2 separate regions of the Homo sapiens genome follow, and region 2 is linked to region 1. The links are contacts of gene promoters, found by promoter capture Hi-C in blood cells and fetal thymus (Javierre and others, 2016). All regions are on one chromosome and are shown on one strand. Each heading gives the region's core, a stretch centred on a gene start or on the middle of the fragment in contact. The rest is flanking DNA. Distances are from core to core; before and after follow the strand shown.

What was found. Contacts are between HindIII fragments. The CHiCAGO score rates a contact against its expected background, and 5 or more counts as called.
Region 2: the fragment with the promoter of GTSF1L here is called in contact with the fragment with the promoter of SGK2 in region 1 in 4 of 17 cell types (endothelial precursors, total B cells, megakaryocytes and 1 more); the score reaches 7.6 in endothelial precursors.

The regions. Positions count from the first base shown.
Region 1 is chr20:43,557,595-43,560,423 of GRCh38, forward strand. SGK2 (serum/glucocorticoid regulated kinase 2) reads left to right here and starts at 1,433. Exons shown (of 13, transcript NM_170693.3): 1 at 1,433-1,565. The HindIII fragment of the contact is 1,890 bases long and covers 693-2,582 here.
Region 2 is chr20:43,725,578-43,728,406 of GRCh38, forward strand. It overlaps GTSF1L (gametocyte specific factor 1 like), which reads right to left and starts at 1,425. Exons shown (of 1, transcript NM_176791.4): 1 at 587-1,425. The coding sequence starts at 1,117. The coding sequence ends at 671. The HindIII fragment of the contact is 9,111 bases long and covers 1-2,829 here.

The sequences.
Region 1 (2,829 bases), core at 183-2,682:
GAGCAGAGGAGAGGGAGCTTGGTGGCACAGCAGCAGCAGCAGCAGGAGCTCTGGAAAGGGCAGGACCTTGTGCGCTGCCCTGATTTGCTCTGTGCACTTGGGCCAGCTACCTCCCCTATCTGGACCAGGGCCAGACACATGCTGCTATGTGTGTTGGTGGAGGTGGGGTGTGTGGCCATGCAGGGCTCCTCCGGAGCACAGCAGAGCAGCCGGTGTTTAAGGCACCAGAATTACCAGAAAGTTGTTGACATTTTAATGGAAAGGCAATGGAGGAAGCAGTGTGAAAGTCAGCCTGCTCAGGAGGGGTCACTGGGCAGAGCTTTCCTTACCTGTCCAGGGGTCCAGGCCCTGCCTGTGCCCTGAGTTAGAACCCAGGGCCGGCCAGGCGCGGTGGCTCACGCCTGTAATCCCAGCACTTTGGGAGGCCGAGGCGGGCAGATCACAAGGTCAGGAGATCGATACCGTCCTGGCTAATGCAGTGAAACCCCATCTCTACTAAAAATACAAAAATTAGCTGGGCGTGGTGGTGGGCGCCTGTAGTCCCAGCTACTCGGGAGGTTGAGGCCGGAGAATGGCGTGAACCTGGGAGGCGGAGCTTGCAGTGAGCTGAGATCACGCCACTGCACTCCAGCCTGGGTGACAGAGCGAGACTCTGTCTCAAAGAAAAAAAAAAAAGAACCCAGGGCCTGGGAAGCTTTGGGTCAACCCCCGAGAAAGCCTTCCCTGTTCTCCAGGGTGAACTCATCTCTGGTTCCTGAGCCTCAAATCTCTGAAGGGCAGAGTGGGGCATAGGTTTCAACTCAGCTGTGATTCTCCCAGAACGGTGCCAGGGCAGTGCTTGGTCGGGTAGGCTGTGGGTGGCAGTCTTCGGCTTAACACAAGAAATTGCCAGAGGCTGGCTCAGGGGGAAATGAGCTGCCCAGTCCTGGAAGTTTCCATGAAATGACTGAACATAGGGGCTGGTGGCCCCCATTAGGGAAGGGGTGGAGGAGGGTGTTGTGTGAGACCAACCTTTCAGTTGCTGGTTCACTAGGTTCCAAGCGAAAGGGAAGATGACTCAGCGGAGGGAATCAGGGAAGGCTGTGTAGGAGTCAGCACTTAAGCTGGACCTTGAGAGAGTGCGGCAGTTCCAGTGTTGAAAGGGACTTCAGAAACCGTCCCTCCAGCAGGACACACCATCCGTCACCAATTCACATGAGGCTCAGGGAGCTGAAGTCAGTTGCCCATGGTCACATAACAAGTTGTGCTTTAAAAAATTCAGAGAGTCCCCCAGGCAGGGCCCATCCAGGAGCCAGTGTGTGCAGCCAGCTTGGTAATTCAGGTCCAGTGGTTAATTAGTAACTGGAAGGCCCCGAAGCCAGCTTCCAGCAGGCAGGGCTGGGAGGTTGAACTTGAGCCGGTTTGGGAGCCAGGAGCGAGTGGGTGACAGGTCATTCCTGACTGGGAAGGTTGCTTGACAAGTCAGGATTGTGCCTCCAGTCAGAAGGACCATGAAGAGAGAGAAGAGGGCAGAGCCGTGCATGGGGCTGCTCCCCAGGACCTGAGCAGGAACCTGGAGTTTTCAGGTGAGAGGCTCACCTGTGAGCAGGATACCTGCCTGCTCGCCTATTGGTCTCCAGATTGACTAGTTACCTAGCTAACATCTTTCCTAGTACCTGTTTACTTTCTTTCCTTCCTTTCTTCCTTGGCGACTTCTTTCCCTTCTCCCTCCTTCCTTTCCTTCCTTCCCTCCCAACTATCTGCTTTCTCAGCTGCCTAATTTTCTTCCTCCTTAACTAACCAACTTACATCCTCACTTCCTTCCCACTGACTTCATTTTTTCCTTTTCTAGCTTTCTATTGTCTTCCTGAAATTCCAGGCCGTGGGCTTTGCAGTCAGATGGCCTGGGTTCAAATCCTGGTTATGTCATTTATTAACTGTCTTGATCATGTCACTTCCCTGTCCTTGCCTCAGTTTTCTCCTCCTTGAAACAGGGACGATGATAGTTCCTAACCCGTGGGGTTGTGGGAACAAAATAAGATCAAGTTGGCACTTGAACTGGGCAGGCGTGTAAATGAACAAGTTACAGTGAAGACAGGGACAGCAGCAGGAGAGGGTGCATGGGATCGGAGGGTCATCTGGCTTCCAGGAAAGGCAATGAGAACAGGTGAAAAGGTGAGCTGGAAAGACCAGGTTTGTTGGGGAATGTTCCAAGGAGAGAGAACTGTGTGACACTGTCCCACCCCCACACCCCATTTGGCAGGGCCAGGGAGCTGTAAGCAGGTCCATGTAACAGTGGGACAGAGGGAGGCAAGTCTGGGCTGTGGCAAGTTAGGAAAGGGACAGGCTTGAGGACTCATGGAGGGGCTTGAGTGGGAGTTTGCGGAGTCTGAAGAGTTAGGAGAATATATTGATGTCCAGCTTCTGGCCAGAAAATTAGAACACCGTGGTGCGAGAGAGAAGAAAGCCTTAGGAACTGAGGGCTGCTTAGGCATGGGGGTCACAGTCAAGGTGATGGGGGAGGGTGTGATGGGCCATGGGCATGCCAGGTTCCCACCAGGAACTCAGTACTTGAATATTAACTCAACAGCAATATCTTGAGAAGCTTTACACAATAGTACAAAGATAAAAGTTAAAATAACCGGCCGGGTACAGTGGCTCACACCCGTAATCCTAACACTTTGGGAGGCCGAGGCAGGCGGATCACCTGAGGTCAGGAGTTTGAGACCAGCCTAGCCAACATGGTGGAACCTCGTCTCGACTAAAAATACAAAAATTAGCCGAGCGTCGTGACACATGCCCGTAATCCCAGCTATTTGGGAGGCTGAGACAGGAGAATTGCTTGAACCC
Region 2 (2,829 bases), core at 175-2,674, 170 kb after region 1:
CAGTTTGCTGACCTCTGAGCTCAACAGTGTGTCTCAACCTTTCTATATCAGCACAGAAAGAGCTTCCTCACTTTTTTTAAGGCGGCATAATATTTTGTTGTATGGCTGCAGTATAACTTATTTTTAATCAGGCCCTTTTAATGGATATTTAGGTCATTTTTGACTTTTTTTTTTGTTGCTTAAGACAGGATCTCACTATGTTGCCCAGGCTGAACTCAAGCGATCCTCTCGCCTCAGCTCCCAGAGTAACAGGCTACAGCTGTGATTCAACACACCTGGCTCATTTCTAACTCTTTTGCTGCTGCAAATAATGCTGCAGTGAATAAGCTAGTACTTAGCTCATTTTCCACATGTGTGATTATATTTACAGAATGAAGCCTGGAAGTGGAATTGCTCAATCAAAGCCTGTATGCATTGATAATGTTTATAGCTATTGTCAAATTGCCCTCTGTGGAGGTTGTACCAACTGACATTCTCACCAATGTTATGAAAGTGCCCATTTTGCCCTACCTTTGCCAGCAGAGTATTTTAAGCCTTTTGATATTTATCAATCTGCCAGGTTAAAAAAAGAGGTAGCCCAGGGTAGTTTACTTTGCATGTCTTTTATTCTGATGCATTGCACGTTCTTCCATGCATTGATGAGGCGTGTGCTCCTTCCTCAGCTGGCAGTTTACTGTCCTGGTCTGAGGATCTTCTGGGGACTGGTCTCTCTTGCTGACTCTTTCGTGTCATTTTCACAAACAACCTTTTGAGGAAAAAAAGTCTTAAGGACAAACACATGCTGGCAATTAGCGCCATCGACATTCCAGATATCGGGGCTGGGAAGGCAGGGTGAGACCTGCTGGGTGTCATCGTTCTGCTCTGAACTAGGAGGACTGACTTTCAGAGGGTTCTCGGTGTCCTCTTCTTCCACAGCGCTCCTGTTGACACAAACAGCCTCATGTTCCTCCAGATTTTTGATGGGGACCACGTGGCAGGCGTTGTATTTGCAGGTGGCCATCTTTTTGGCTTTCTTGGGGTTCTTTCTCCTGCACGATGCCAGGTGGTACTGGAATCTGCTGAGTGGGATTCGGTGGTGAGGATCATAAGGGCAAATTTCAAAGGCTTCTGGCTCCATGAGAAATTCTTGAAGCAGGGTATCTCACTGCTAGAGTCTAACGGAAATGCTTCTTGTGGAGAAGCCCTTTTGTAAGAAGGATGGAGTTGTCCTCTGCCCAGTTTTGGCCCTTGGGATTCTGTAGGTGACGGTCTTAACTTGTGGTCTGTTCTCTAGGACTGTGAGTGGTGGATTAGAAGAGAGATGAGGAGCTGCCAAAAGCAGCTACACAGAGAACAGAGTTAGCAAATGGCACCCGAGACAGAACTATAGCAGATGCAAGAGCCAAAAACCCACAGCCGCTTGACTCACGGATATACTATGATGTCAAGCTGCAGTCACCGGTGGTCACAATGGGCAGCCTAAGTCATCAGGAAGAGGCTATTGTGCACTGCTTGGGAGGGGTGGATGGCTTTGGGAATGCTGCCATCTAAAATTGCTCATGGATGTATGTTGTGACTTAAGTCTTTTAACTGTACGTATTTGTTTTTTGTTTTTGTTTTTGTTTTATTTGAGACAGAGTCTCGCTCTGTTGCCAGGCTGGAGTACAGTGGTGCGATCTTGGCCCACTGCAATCTCCGCCTCCCAGGTTCAAGTGATTCTCCTGCCTCAGGCTCCCGAGTAGCTGGGATTACAGGCACCTGCCATCATGCCCGGCTAATTTTTTGTATTTTTAGTAGAGACGGGTTTCACCATGTTGGCCAGGCTGGTCTTGAACTCCTGACCTCAGGTGATCCACCCGCCTCAGCCCCCCAAAGTGCTGGGATGATAGGTGTGAGCCCCTGCGCTTTGCCAGGGCTGGTTTTTGGATGTGATTCTCAGGGCCGTCTTTCTTTACCCTTCTGCTCTGCTGAGGCCCACAGCAGCCTAGTCTCCTTGGGTGTGGGGGAAGGGTTTAAATCTATTCATATATCGCAGAAGGTGAAGCCTTTTGGTGTTCAGCTTAACATGGGAAACATTTCCTATAAAACGCCCCATCTTAGGTCGACCCTGCCGTTGTCCCTCACAGAACTGGACCAAAGTCTGAATGGACGCAATTGACACATATCTCAGGGTGTTAGTGGTTTTGGTCCTCTGACATTCTATTTACATGTCTGGTGTTAGGTAGGATTTCTTCTAAAAATTGGCCTGGAGCTCCTTCCCACCCCCCACCCTGTTAAATTGTTTCTCAAGATCTGAGTGACAGTAGAGAAATACCATATTCCTGAATAGGAAGACTCAAAATCATAAATGAATATTCTCTGTAAACTAAATTACATAAATTACATAGTCATCCTAAATTGATACATAAATATAATGCAATTCCAAATAATTTTTGTAGCTTTATGTGCTGATATCTGATAGAGCAAGTCTCTGCTTGTTATTAGTTTTCCCCCCAAAAGCCTTGACTATCTTCAAGGATTTGTTATTCTAGATCATGTGTCAACAAACTATGGGCCCATGATTCAAATCCAGATGGCTATCTGCTTTTGTAAATAAAGTTTTATTGAAGCACAGCCACACCCATTTGTTTATATATTGTCCATTGGCTGCTTTTGAGCTAGATTTGAGTAGTTGCAACAGAATCCAGATGACCTAGAAACCTCTAATGTTTTCTGTCTGGCCCATTATAGAAAAAGCTCACCCATCCTATTCTTGGTGGTGGTTAAGGAAGCTGACTGTATTCAAATTCTACCTCCTGCCACTTACCAGCCATGTGACCTTGGGGAAGGTGTGTGTGTGAGTGTGTGTGT